Regions from separate parts of the Homo sapiens genome. Here all the other regions are linked to region 3. The links are contacts of gene promoters, found by promoter capture Hi-C in blood cells and fetal thymus (Javierre and others, 2016). All regions are on one chromosome and are shown on one strand. Each heading gives the region's core, a stretch centred on a gene start or on the middle of the fragment in contact. The rest is flanking DNA. Distances are from core to core; before and after follow the strand shown.

What was found. The method cuts DNA at HindIII sites, captures the fragments that hold promoters and counts their contacts. A CHiCAGO score of 5 or more calls a contact.
Region 1: a fragment that was not itself captured here is called in contact with the fragment with the promoter of MFF in region 3 in 1 of 17 cell types (M2 macrophages); the score reaches 6.5 in M2 macrophages.
Region 2: a fragment that was not itself captured here is called in contact with the fragment with the promoter of MFF in region 3 in 1 of 17 cell types (total CD4 T cells); the score reaches 5.6 in total CD4 T cells.

What each region holds. Positions count from the first base shown.
Region 1 is chr2:225,038,111-225,041,991 of GRCh38, reverse strand. All of the region lies in intron 1 of DOCK10 (dedicator of cytokinesis 10), which reads left to right. Among named protein-coding and RNA genes, the nearest start is that of DOCK10, 2.4 kb to the left of the region's middle. RefSeq lists an enhancer at 478-817. The HindIII fragment of the contact is 1,891 bases long and covers 820-2,710 here.
Region 2 is chr2:224,924,703-224,928,665 of GRCh38, reverse strand. All of the region lies in intron 2 of DOCK10 (dedicator of cytokinesis 10), which reads left to right. Among named protein-coding and RNA genes, the nearest start is that of MIR4439, 84 kb to the left of the region's middle. The HindIII fragment of the contact is 1,364 bases long and covers 740-2,103 here.
Region 3 is chr2:227,323,669-227,327,441 of GRCh38, reverse strand. MFF (mitochondrial fission factor) reads right to left here and starts at 2,191. Exons shown (of 9, transcript NM_001277062.2): 1 at 2,015-2,191. It overlaps MFF-DT (MFF divergent transcript), which reads left to right and starts at 2,278. Exons shown (of 14, transcript NR_102371.1): 1 at 2,278-2,324. RefSeq lists a silencer at 1,850-2,139 and an enhancer at 2,320-2,369. The HindIII fragment of the contact is 6,653 bases long and covers 1-3,773 here.

The DNA of each region.
Region 1 (3,881 bases), core at 516-3,015, 2.3 Mb after region 3:
GTGGGAGAGGATGTGCAGGGGCTTTAATGGGGCGCGAGGGGGCCGGAATGCACCGCCAGTCACACTGGTGCTAAGTGATACGAGTGCCAGAGACCCCGGGTGGGGTGGGGGGATCTACAGAACAGAACCCCTGAGTCCGGAGGTCTGCGCGTCCCTCTCACCCTCCAGTAAACAGACCAGTGCGCTGAGAGAGAGGGATGCAGTCCGTGGTCCTCGCCCTGGTTAGAGCTGGGGCCCCCCGACGTTAACTATCGCAGAAATAGATGTACTTGGAACAGCCCTCCCACCGCAGGGTAAAAACCCACAAACCACTTAATACTCCTCCAGAAAGGGCTGAGGAACACAGGCTGGAGGAGACGTGGGTCATTAGGTCTCCAGCGGTTTCTGATATTTTTCTAAGATGTTTCGCGGGGTTCTCCCACCAGCAATGCTTTACTGGTTACTTCCTTATTGAAACGGCTTCTAAGTGCTGGGTGATTTCCGCGGGAAGTCCCTGGGGCAGCAGCCAGCATCTGATGCTAGGATCCTATCCATACCAACCCAGATGTTCCTGCGTTGCAGTAGGTCCACACTGCCGGGGAGAGGTGGCAAGAGACAAATCAACTCTAGTGGAAACGGGAAGCGAGTGGGAACAACAGCCTCACAGCAAGACCGGGGCTCAGCAGCCGCGCTCTTGGCCTGCGTTTGGTGGACCGGAATCCGGGTTGTGTGTTTCATTTTCTTTTTTGCCAGAAAATATCATTAGGAACTAAACGGCTCTTTTTAAGAGTGTGAAAGTGTTACTCTTGCCAGTCACCAATGAGGAGGGCGCCAAAAGCTTCCCAGAGCCAGTTCCCACAGCCAGGACTATTCTCTAAAGCCAGAGGTCGGAAAGTTGAACAGAACGGAAGCAAATTGCCTGGCAGAGGGAAGAGGCATCGGGTGCCCAGGGGGTGTAGAGCGGGCGGGGGTGATTGGAGTGTGAAACGAATTGGTGGCCAGGGTGCCTTCTCTTGCACTTACACTAGCTGCAGTCCGCAGTTACCCAGAGGTGGTTCAACTGTTAGCTCACTCTGTGCCAGGGACAGCATGTGGTACTGCTATCAGCGTGCACATTTTCAGGACACCAAAGACAAACTGTTCAAAAGAACATTAGAAGAAAAGATTCAATTCGAGTAAAAGTAGAGATAAGAAAATCTCCACACAGTAGTAGAAAGTACTTTTTACTTTTGAATGATCATTCAGAATTGTGGTTTTGTCATTTTCTGCCATTCCCTTGACAAAAACTTTATTTTGCAATTGACTCATTGGACTGAATCTCACTGAGGATCTGATGGAAACACACAGCGTTCAATTGGAATAAACAGCTTAAACTGTTGTGTGTTTTTTTAAATGTAGATCCTCCTAGAATTTTTGTGGCACTAGAATTTCTATAAAGATTATGTATCCCAGATACCCTTCTACACCACACACACACACACACACACACACACACACACGCACTGCTTTCTCCAAAATTATGTCAGATTTGAAATCCTAGGGTATCTTGTCAAAATGAATAAGCTCGCTGTCTTTAAAAAGAGGTGGGGGAGGGGAGATTCAGTGGCAAAGGTGGTCCTGACTCCCCTTGCTTCGCTTCAGCACCTTGGCCAACACTCCTAAACTAGCTTTTGCCAAGACATTTCATGGGATCTTACACATCTAGGCAGGCAGTTTTGGCTGCTATTTTGGCAGCAAGAACGCATGTGCTTTGCATACTATCCCATCAGTTAACTCTTGAAGGGAAACAGGAAGGTGATGAGTTCTCTGAGCTGGCACCTGAACTCGGTGGGATTCTGTGGGTGTAGAGCATCCCTTCTGAACCTAAAACCGTGTCATTGGACTATGTGGTAGAGACTAATCTTAGCGTACATTGATGCAATCCCTTAAGACTCTTCATATCTGTTGCTTCAAGTTCTCAAAACATGGTTGTCAAGGGAGAAAAATGATAGGATGTTGGGGAAAATATTATGGATATCCGACTTCAGTACAGACTCATAGAACCGCGGGTGTGTATTGGAGCAAGCCATCCTCTATTGCAAGGTATTTGAAAGAGACTAGAAACTCCTGCTGAGAAAAAGTATCTTACTGCTAGATTTGTATATTCCCCTTTCTGAAATCCCTGTCTTGGGGACACAAATCCTCCAGGACATTGCCAAAAGATTGCCATAGGGTTTGAATTCTGCTCTCTCCAATAAGTTTAGGTAAGGTTGTCAGGTTAACAAGATAGTTTTCTTCCCTGAGAATGGGGTGTGTATACAGAGAGAGAGAGAGAGAGAGAGAGAGAAGACAGGAAGCCTTCAAAATGTGTTTGAATATGGAGAGGAGAGATCAAGGAGATGCTGAGTGAGGGTAATGACTGGGAAAGCCAAATTTTAAGGCAGTTGTTGAGGACAATACAGGTGTATGCCAAAGCAAATTTGATGTCAGTTTTTACCCAAAGCACTGTATGTAGTAGGCTTATGTACTTGCAGACTCCTAGACACGAACCACCTTATTCTTCACCCCTCCCAAGAACAGTAATGAACAAAAACATACATTTCAAAAGGAGAAATATTTGCTCCTTCATTATCCTAAAATTCCCCATAGAAAATAAATGAAAGACAACTCATTCGAAGATCAATTCAAAGGATCATGTCAAGTTCTCATAATTTCCTGAAATCTCATTCCTGATTGTTTCATAAAGCAAGCTTCTCTAGGGTAGAATTTCAGCCCGAAAATGATTAGAAACATTTGTCTCATATCAGAACTGGAGTGTTTTATTACATTGGTTGAATATACATACCATGTTGGCTTCAAAGTTGTAATGCCACTAATTAGAAATTCCTTTTTGATAAGAAGCTCATCTTTTAAAATGAATGAAGTGTATCTGTACCCTAGCATGAATTAGTTCATTTAGATAGCTTTCTATAATTCATTAAGATATACATTTAGGATTTGTGCACTTTTCTGCATATATATTGTATTTGAGAGCATTTCAAAAGAAAAGACTTTTTAAAAAAAGTATAGGTAAACTTTTTGCAAACACCCCATCAGATCTGTCACTTTGAGAGAAATGGAGTTTTATTTATGGAATGTTTTAGGTGGGTTAGTGCAATGGAAGGCTTCAGATAACCAGAAGGATGAGATCTACATAGAGTCAGATGATGGAAAGGAAGCATTTACTAGAGATCAAATAATCATTTGGTCAGTTTTAGCCCAAAGCCGTTCATCTATTTCCTAGACTGGAGCTTACCACTTTAGTTACATGCACTTTTAATGCCTTTATATTTACTCTATTATTAGACAAAAACTCCTTTGCAACTCCTTTTTAATTGTATCTAATTTTGTTATTAACTCATTTTAAAGAGAAAGCATCCTGCCGGAAGTGATTATACTTAACCAGGAGGTTTTCTCCCTTCCTACCCACCCAGAAAGTGTAAGGGGTAAAGAGGGGAAAGTATTTATTTCAGTAAATTCCATTTCCCTTCTTTGATGTTTCCTAACTCTTCAGACCTCCAATAATACCACTTTTGATATTTTAGAGAGCTTTGAGTAAGAAGCGGAACCTTTGACCAACCAAAGAGCTTTGATTGAGAAGTAATGAATATGTAAACATGTTTACGTGAGCGTGAGGAATTCCTAGAAGGAAGAATTTTCTCCCCTCTGAACTTGGTGGCATTCAAGAGTTGAGAGTAGGAGGGATTTTTTTTTTTTTAATTGAGTGGGGGATACTGGAATTTCCCAAAAGTCATATGCTAGATGCAGAAAGTGATAGCAAATGAAAGTGAAGCACTTGTTTTGCTGTCGCTATCCAGATTTAAAAGCAATATGCAATATAAGGGCCTGGTTGTTTAGCATTCACAGCACAGTCTTTTTATTTT
Region 2 (3,963 bases), core at 172-2,671, 2.4 Mb after region 3:
TAAGCAACTGACAAACAAAAGGATAGTGTTAGATATTATCTCTACATAAAATTGCCTATTTTTGAATAATAGTGGAGATTGTTCCTCATTTTAACTGCTCTACAGAGTACAGCTTGGCAAACTGTCGCCCATGGGTGACCTGCTGCCTATTTTTTATGTCCCATGAGCTAAGAATGGTTTTTATGGTTGTTAAAATAGCTTAGGGAAAAAAAGATGATATTTCAAAACACATTAAAATTATCTGAAATTCAAATTCTGATACCCATAAAGAAAGTTTTATTGAACACGGACACCATTCCTTGACCTCTTGTCAGTGGCTGCTTTCATGATGTAAAGGCAGGGTTGCAACAGAGTTGCAGTAGAAGCAACAGAGACATTCAGCCGGAAAAGATTTATTCTTTGACGCTTTACAGAAAAAGTTGGCTGACATAGAGTACAACTGCATGCATTTTTGGTTTTTATCCTCACACTCTTTGTGGAATATAGGCGTGTCTGTAAATCTCTGATGTTACCTGCTTCACCCACAGCCTATGTCACATTTTAGGGACGTGGCGCACCAACAGGAAGTGTCCATGCAGTCAGCAAGCATGTCATTTCATCAGCTCTCCCTTCAGCAGTGGGTGAGGCTCCTCTGGGGTGTGTGGAGTCAATCTCCACGGAGTCAATGTGAAGTGGTCATAGAATGACCACCCCAATCCCAAGGCATTGAGGGATGGAAGGAGAGGGGCCGCTCCAAGCTTCCCACCCCCACCTCTAAATGTCTTTCATCCAGTTTCTGCCCTGCAGATTGGAGAATCCAGCTCACTTGTATGTTTCCACGTTACCAAGCACCCACACTTGCAGCACACATGATTCATTACTCGGTTTGTTTAATCAATATTTATTCAGCACCCACGAGCTGCTGAATATAGAACAGCACTTCCTAGACTAGTGAGACTGACAAGAAAAGCAAAAGCCCTGTGTTTAAGGAGCTCATGCCCTTTTATGGATGAAAAAGCAAGTTGATTTAGAATGCTTATGGTTAAGAAATACCGAGAATCAGAGACTTCGTCTGGTATCTGGTACACGAGAAAGATTACTTTTCACCAAGGCAGTATTCTTATATTGTGACTGTATATATTAAAAGTTTTTCTCTATTCACTCTGCTGTCCCAAGCCACAAATACCCTCATTTGCCTGGACCATACCTCCCCTCCAAGAAGTGGTTTTGTAACTGGTCCTCCTGCTTTCTTCTTTGCTCCGCTTTGATTCGTTCACACACAGTACTCAATGGAAGCTGTTAGGAACACAAATTAGATAACGCCATGCCTCTGGTTAAAACTTCTCAGTGGCTTCCCATTGCCTTAAGAGTCAAATCCAGCTCCTCCCATAACCCCTGTCATCTGGTTCCCCATGTTCTCTGAGCTCTCATCTAGCCTACTTTCCTCAGTCACTGCACAGACATCAAGCATTCTTTCTGTTCCCCCAACTTGCCAAGCTCATCCTCTCGGTAGGGCCTTTACACTCTCTGTATAGCTGGTTCCTATTTTTCAGTCACAACTCAGTTTAAATGTCACCTCTACAAAGAAGCATCCCTGACTTCCAAGCTACATTGCCCTCACACCCAGTTACTTTATAACATGACCCCACCTGCTTCTCTTGATAACACTTATCACCACTGGGAAATATCTTGGTTTGCTTTTTCACTCCTCTGTCACTTGTTTCTCACTGTTAGACAGTAGCCTCTAGCAGGACAGAGACTTCTTCTGTCTTGATTGTTGAAAGATTTTCAGCAGCTAAAGCAGAACTTGGCACAAAGCAGATGGAAAATAAATATTTATTTCATGAATTATCTTTCAGAAACATCTAGATTGCTATTTTATAACATAATGTTGATCCCTTGAGTACCTTGAGGAACCAAAAGGCTTTTCTGAAACAAAATTCTTGAGAACAAAGAGGATGAAGTAATTGGCTTTGCTTGATGGTAAGGAAAATACTTCCTGCTTTGGCACAACTCAACTCAACATATCACCTTAAAAAACAGCACTAAGAACACGTTTCCCTTTTTAAAGAGGCCCATTCCTTCTAACATAGTGCCTGGCTCATAGCTGATATCAGCAAAGCTTAGTTTCCTCCTTTTAACACTTTTTTTTAAAGAGATGGAGTCTCGCTCTGTTATCCAGGCTGGAGTGTAGTGGGAAGTCACTGCAGCCTCAAACTTGGCCTCTCAAAGTGCTGGGATTACAGGCGTGAGCCACTGCACCCAGCCCTCTAACACTTTAGTGTACTTCTTCACTTACTCATTCACTTCCTTTCTGTTACTAGACAAGGGACAAATCAGTTCATATCTGTACTTCAAGTACCCAACACAATGTCTGATTCATAGGCATTCAATAGATTATCAAACATTGAATTAAAATAGTTTTCTTCCAGGTTGAGGGCCTGACACAGAAGCACTTTCCTTTATTTTGGCACACCAGGTAGAAGCTAGTCCTCCTTGTATGTGGGTTCTGGGACTAAGCAGTATGAACTCCTGCACTACATGTGTCCTAATGATTCACTAAAATAAGCAGTATTGATGTATTTATTAAGCCATTCATTGCAAAAACTTGTACTGCTTCAATAATTGTATTTGCTACTTTTTTTCATCTTTCTTTTTCAAGCTGGTAGTAATAGAAACTTTAAAACAAAACAAAAAATAAAGAACTTAGTCACCAAAGTGTGTGACTCAGTAAAGTGGCAAAGAAAGTAAGAAAAGAAAGCAAGGGCTAAGAAAAATGGTTTCAAGGACACATTGAATCATATTGTCAAATGATTCAGTTTAAGAAAAGACTGATGCAAAATAGCAGAAAAAAAGTTGAGAAAGTCAGAAATGAGTTTCTTCCTGAGCAAAAGATGTAGAAAGCCTGAGATGGGATCATTTCTGGGAAGTACAAAACCATAAATAAGAAAGTTCTGATGTCTGAAAGCTGGTAAGACTGTACACTGTGTAGGAAGACCACCTATCAACTATACTTCAATTTTGTCCACACCAGTAAAACTCTATTTCAATTTACCTTCATGGACCACCTTTGGTGATCTAAGCTGTTTATATCCAGGACACCAATACGAATAAGAAGCAGACCTTACACTTGAACAGTTAGACTTTCAACACCGGGCAGTGCAATTTTCAAAGTCAAAAGTCTATGTCACATGACTACAGTCACCTAAGAGTCTCATTATCTTCTCAAATTCCATCTTCATATTAGTAGGTCAGAATTGTGTCCCAGGGTACTCAAAGGCATTCTGCACTTTTCACTGGCTATTAAAACTCAGAATAGTGGATATCATAATATACCAATGGCTTGTTCTTTTCATAGTATGTCTTTAGCAATGAAAAGCAAATGGTATATGGGGACTTCTAGACTCAACCACAAGGGTCATTCTAGGAAAGGAAGCAGAAAGATTTGAATATGTTTTAAACTGCAAATCAGTAAGGTCATGAGTTTTCTTTCTTTTTTTTTTTCTGAGACAAAGGTTAACATTTTATAAGAATCTCAACCTCTTTTAAATCTGTGGCTTTTGAGCCTGAAAAGCAGGCTTTTAAACGGCTCCTGGTGTTCATGTAAGAACATTGTAATTTCAATTTGAAAACTGAGTAATAGTCTTTGTCGAATTAGATTCTTTCTATGTTATAATATTCCTCTCATTTACAAGCTAATGAAGTTAAGATTTGGAAAGGCTGTTGTTCAAGGAAATAGAGCAACTGGAAGGACAAACACCTAACATAAGCACCTTGACTTTTACTATTAGTTTCTGTCTAAACAGCATGCTTTTGGCCGACGCTTCTTAGAAAAAAAAGGCACACAAGTTGGGGGAAATATTAACTTCCTGAATCCCACAGTGAGTGATGCCATTAGAAAATAAGTACTGTAGTGAAACAGTTCTGGTTGTTTATTTCATTTCAGTAAGAATGTGTGTGGAGACCCTGGTCTGTGTTTGATTG
Region 3 (3,773 bases), core at 942-3,441:
CTGATTTTTTTTCTCCCTCGTTAGACTGTGGCATTTCTGATAATATCTTTTGGCAATAAATAAACGTCTCATTTGGTGTTGATATGTTAATTCCAGAAGTTTTGTACCTTAGAATCCAGTAGGCAACCAGTACGTGATTCTGTTACATAACAAACGAGGCAAAATCTCTCTTAGAATCACAGATGATTTCATATTTCTACTTTCTAAGCCCAGTGGTTCCCAAACACCAGTAACTAACTTGCCAACTTCATGGGTTTTTTTTTTCCCATATTCACAGAGTACATTAACTTTTTGCTACAGTTAATTTTTTTAACTCGACTTTTTAAAATCAAAAAAGTATTGTAAAAGAAAATTTTGTATCACTACCTTAAACCATGGCTGTACATATATAAATACAGATTGCAAAAACATCCTATTACAAAAAAATCCTCATCCACGTACCGCCTAGAGTCAAGTCACATGCCACTAGCGGAAAGTGTACCAATTTTGGGACACAATGATTCCAGCCCAACTTTCTCATTTTCTGTATTAGAACACTGGAACCCAGAAAGCCTCGGAAGTCACCGAAACAACTTGAGTCAAACTGACTGTGGTTGCAAATGTTTATGTACTTTTCAAAAACAAACATACAAACAAACAAAAACAAACCAAAAAAAACCCTCCAGTTGTTTATTACCTACTGCGTGGACCTAGTTCACACAGATGGGCCACTCTGCACACCCTGTTTCAGTTCTTTTTCAAAGAAACTATATTTAAAAAGTCACTGCAAACTTTTAAAACTATATATTAATGAACTTTAAAATAAGGTTATGAACCCACAGAAAAGTTTCAATACCAGAAGAGAGGAGAGCGAAGACTAAACTTTGCAATTCTGAAAGGAGGCAGCTCTATCAGACAGGAAGGGAGAGAACACAATTTCCTTTTGGAAAAAATGGCAAAACCAATATACAAGCCTTTGAAACCAAAAGATAGAAGGTCCCCCAAGCAATTTAATTGCATGGGAAAAGACTACTAAGTATAACTAAATCGTCCTAATTTTCCTAAGGGTTTTTCTTTTGGGCTCTCATTAGCCAACGGAATTGAGGCAGAAAAAATGTTTTTCACGCAGGGAGACAAAACATTTGTGATCATCTTAAGTCTCTCGGTGGATGAGAGGCCTGAATACAAATGGTTCTATATTTGGGCAGAAGGGCCAGAAACCTTTTTTTTTTTTTTCCCCTTTAATGTTCTCCAATGAAAACATGTCACTTTTGAAAGGGTGCTCTTCCCTCGAGAATGCCCTTTGCTTCTAACTTTGTGGGAGGTAGACAGGGGTGTTCTTTTACGATAGTAATAGTAGCACACGTCCTGCAGAGGAAGGTCAGAAGCTCGGCGGAACAGGAACCGCAGCTTTCCTCCGGCTTCCCAGCTCCTGGAAGGAAACCCGAGAGCAACTGCCTGCAGCCACATCTGCGAGCAGGGATGCTCACAGACGGACAGGGTGGCCCGCAGCCACCCGCGATGCCACAACCTGGGCTTCCAACAAGGCCCTTCTTTTCCAAAATGTACTTGCCACAAAACAACACAAAAACCTCCTTTTAAACAAGGCAGGTTTAAGGTCAGCCTGTAAGGTGTCAGGGCCTTGGCAGGGAAGGATGAGTGAAGACCTGCAAAGCCCGGCGTTCACGCTCACGGGACTCCCGCTGCTTCCCAAACCCCTATTTTCCAGTCGGAAAAGTCCGGGTTAATACACAAAAGGAGACGCCGAACCACACAAGGTGAAGAGGTTCGCCCAAAAACACCTGCAGAAGACGCTCCTCTCCCTCGCTCTCCTCGGGGACTCAAGGTCCCGGGGAGGAGGAAAGACCAGGGTTGAAGGCAAGAGGCCCGGGGACGGGACTCGGGTCAGGGAGACACTACCGGGGGGGCCGGGGCCACCGCGGGTCCCTGTTGGCCGGAGGGTCTCGGCGGCGGCGATAGGCCTGGCAGCCAGCTCGGGCGGCAGGTCGCGGGTCGGGAAGACGTCAACACTCACCCCTGGGCCCACAGGAGGGTCCCGGCGAGGACCCCCGCCCTCTGGCTCCCGGGGCGCTCGAGTGGGCGCTCTCAGAGGTGGTTGGCTGAGAGCACGGAGGCGCCCAGGGACAGCACCGGCGGAGCGGCCCGCAGAGGGCCAGGGCAGAAGCGCGAAAGGCGCGGGCTGGCCCCTTCTGGGAGCCGTAGCGGAAGAGTGTTCGTGGTCATGTGACGCGGAAAAGGGCGGACGCGTGGCCCACGCACTGGAACGGCTCCACGGTAAGCGATGCGCAGACATCTTTGTTGTGGGCGAAACGAGGTGACCGCAGGTGACTCCTCTTGCGGTTAAGTTTAATTCACACTTCGGCTTTATTAGATTTTGTAATCTTTAAGAACTTGGTGTTTGCAAGGTAAACCTTTGGTAGCCAATTAAAACAACTTTTTCAGGACCATCTGGCATGAAAATTTCTATGCTGTGAGGCTTAGGAATTCTCATATGTAAATCAGCTCCGCCAGTGATTCCATGAGTTCCAATTTGATACTTCTTAAGCCCTCGGTTGATCAGACCTTGTCTTCCATGAGAATTCCGGGAGAGGGGAAGTTAAGTTTCACAGTAGTTGGCGGCATCGTTTAGCTTTGGGAGAGCACTCTCTGCTTCTGAACACCCAACCACAGACTCTTCCCCCCAGGAAGCCCTTGCTTAGAGCGGGGGAAAAATGGTACAGTGCTTGTCAGTATGGGAATGTACTGAGGCCAAATAATGTGATATTTTATATGCCTTGGTTTTCACAAACACCTAAAGGTGTACACATGACTTATGTACTCCCCTACGATCTAATTGATATTCTAGAGATGTTACCATTCTTCAAAATGATTTGGGAAGCCCTCTGAATTGCGTTCTTGGGCTTCTTAACACTGGTGTAGGGAAAGTGAAAATATTTCCTCTCCCCTCTTGGGGTCTTGGCTGGGCCTAAGAATTAAACTGATGAGGAAAAGAGTCAAACTCTAAAATATTTGAAGAGATTTATTCTGAGCCAAATGTGAGTGACCATGGCCCGTGACAGAGCCCTCAGGAGGTCCTGAGAACATGTGTCCAAGGTGGTTGGGGCGCAGCTTGGTTTTATGTATTTTAGGGAGGCATGAGACATCAATCAAATAAATTTAAGAACTACATTGGTTTGGTTCAGAAAGGTGGGACAACTCAAAGCAGGGGCTTCCAAGGCTGTAGGTAAATTTAAACATTTTCTGGTTGACAGTTGAAGACCTGGGACCCATAGAAAGGAAATGTTGAGGTTAAAATAAAAGATTGTGGAGACCAAGGTTCTTTTGAAGTCTTATAGTGGCTGCCCTTAGAGACAATGGATGACAAATGTTTCCTATTCAGATCTTTAAAAGGTGCTAGATTCTTACGTAATCTCTTTAGGATTGGGAGGACCTGGAAGAAAATGATCTAGCTATGTTAATAGAAATTCTATGTAGATGCAGATTTTCCCCCAACAAAGGACAGCTTTGCAGAGCCGTTTCAAGATATGTCAAAAACTAAAAAAAATGTTTTGCGGTAAAATATTTTGATTTTGTTTCTTGTCTCGTTATGCCAGTGTCAGATTGGAAAGTAAGTCACAATATATAGGGTTAAATAAAACCCATCTGATGAGAATTTATGGATTGTAGGGCATGAATCCCTAGGCCCCTTAGATAGGAATTTGAGCAAGATTAAAAAAAAAATCAGAGCTTAGTCTCCACTGACGTAAAATAGAGACATAAAACATAACAGGAGG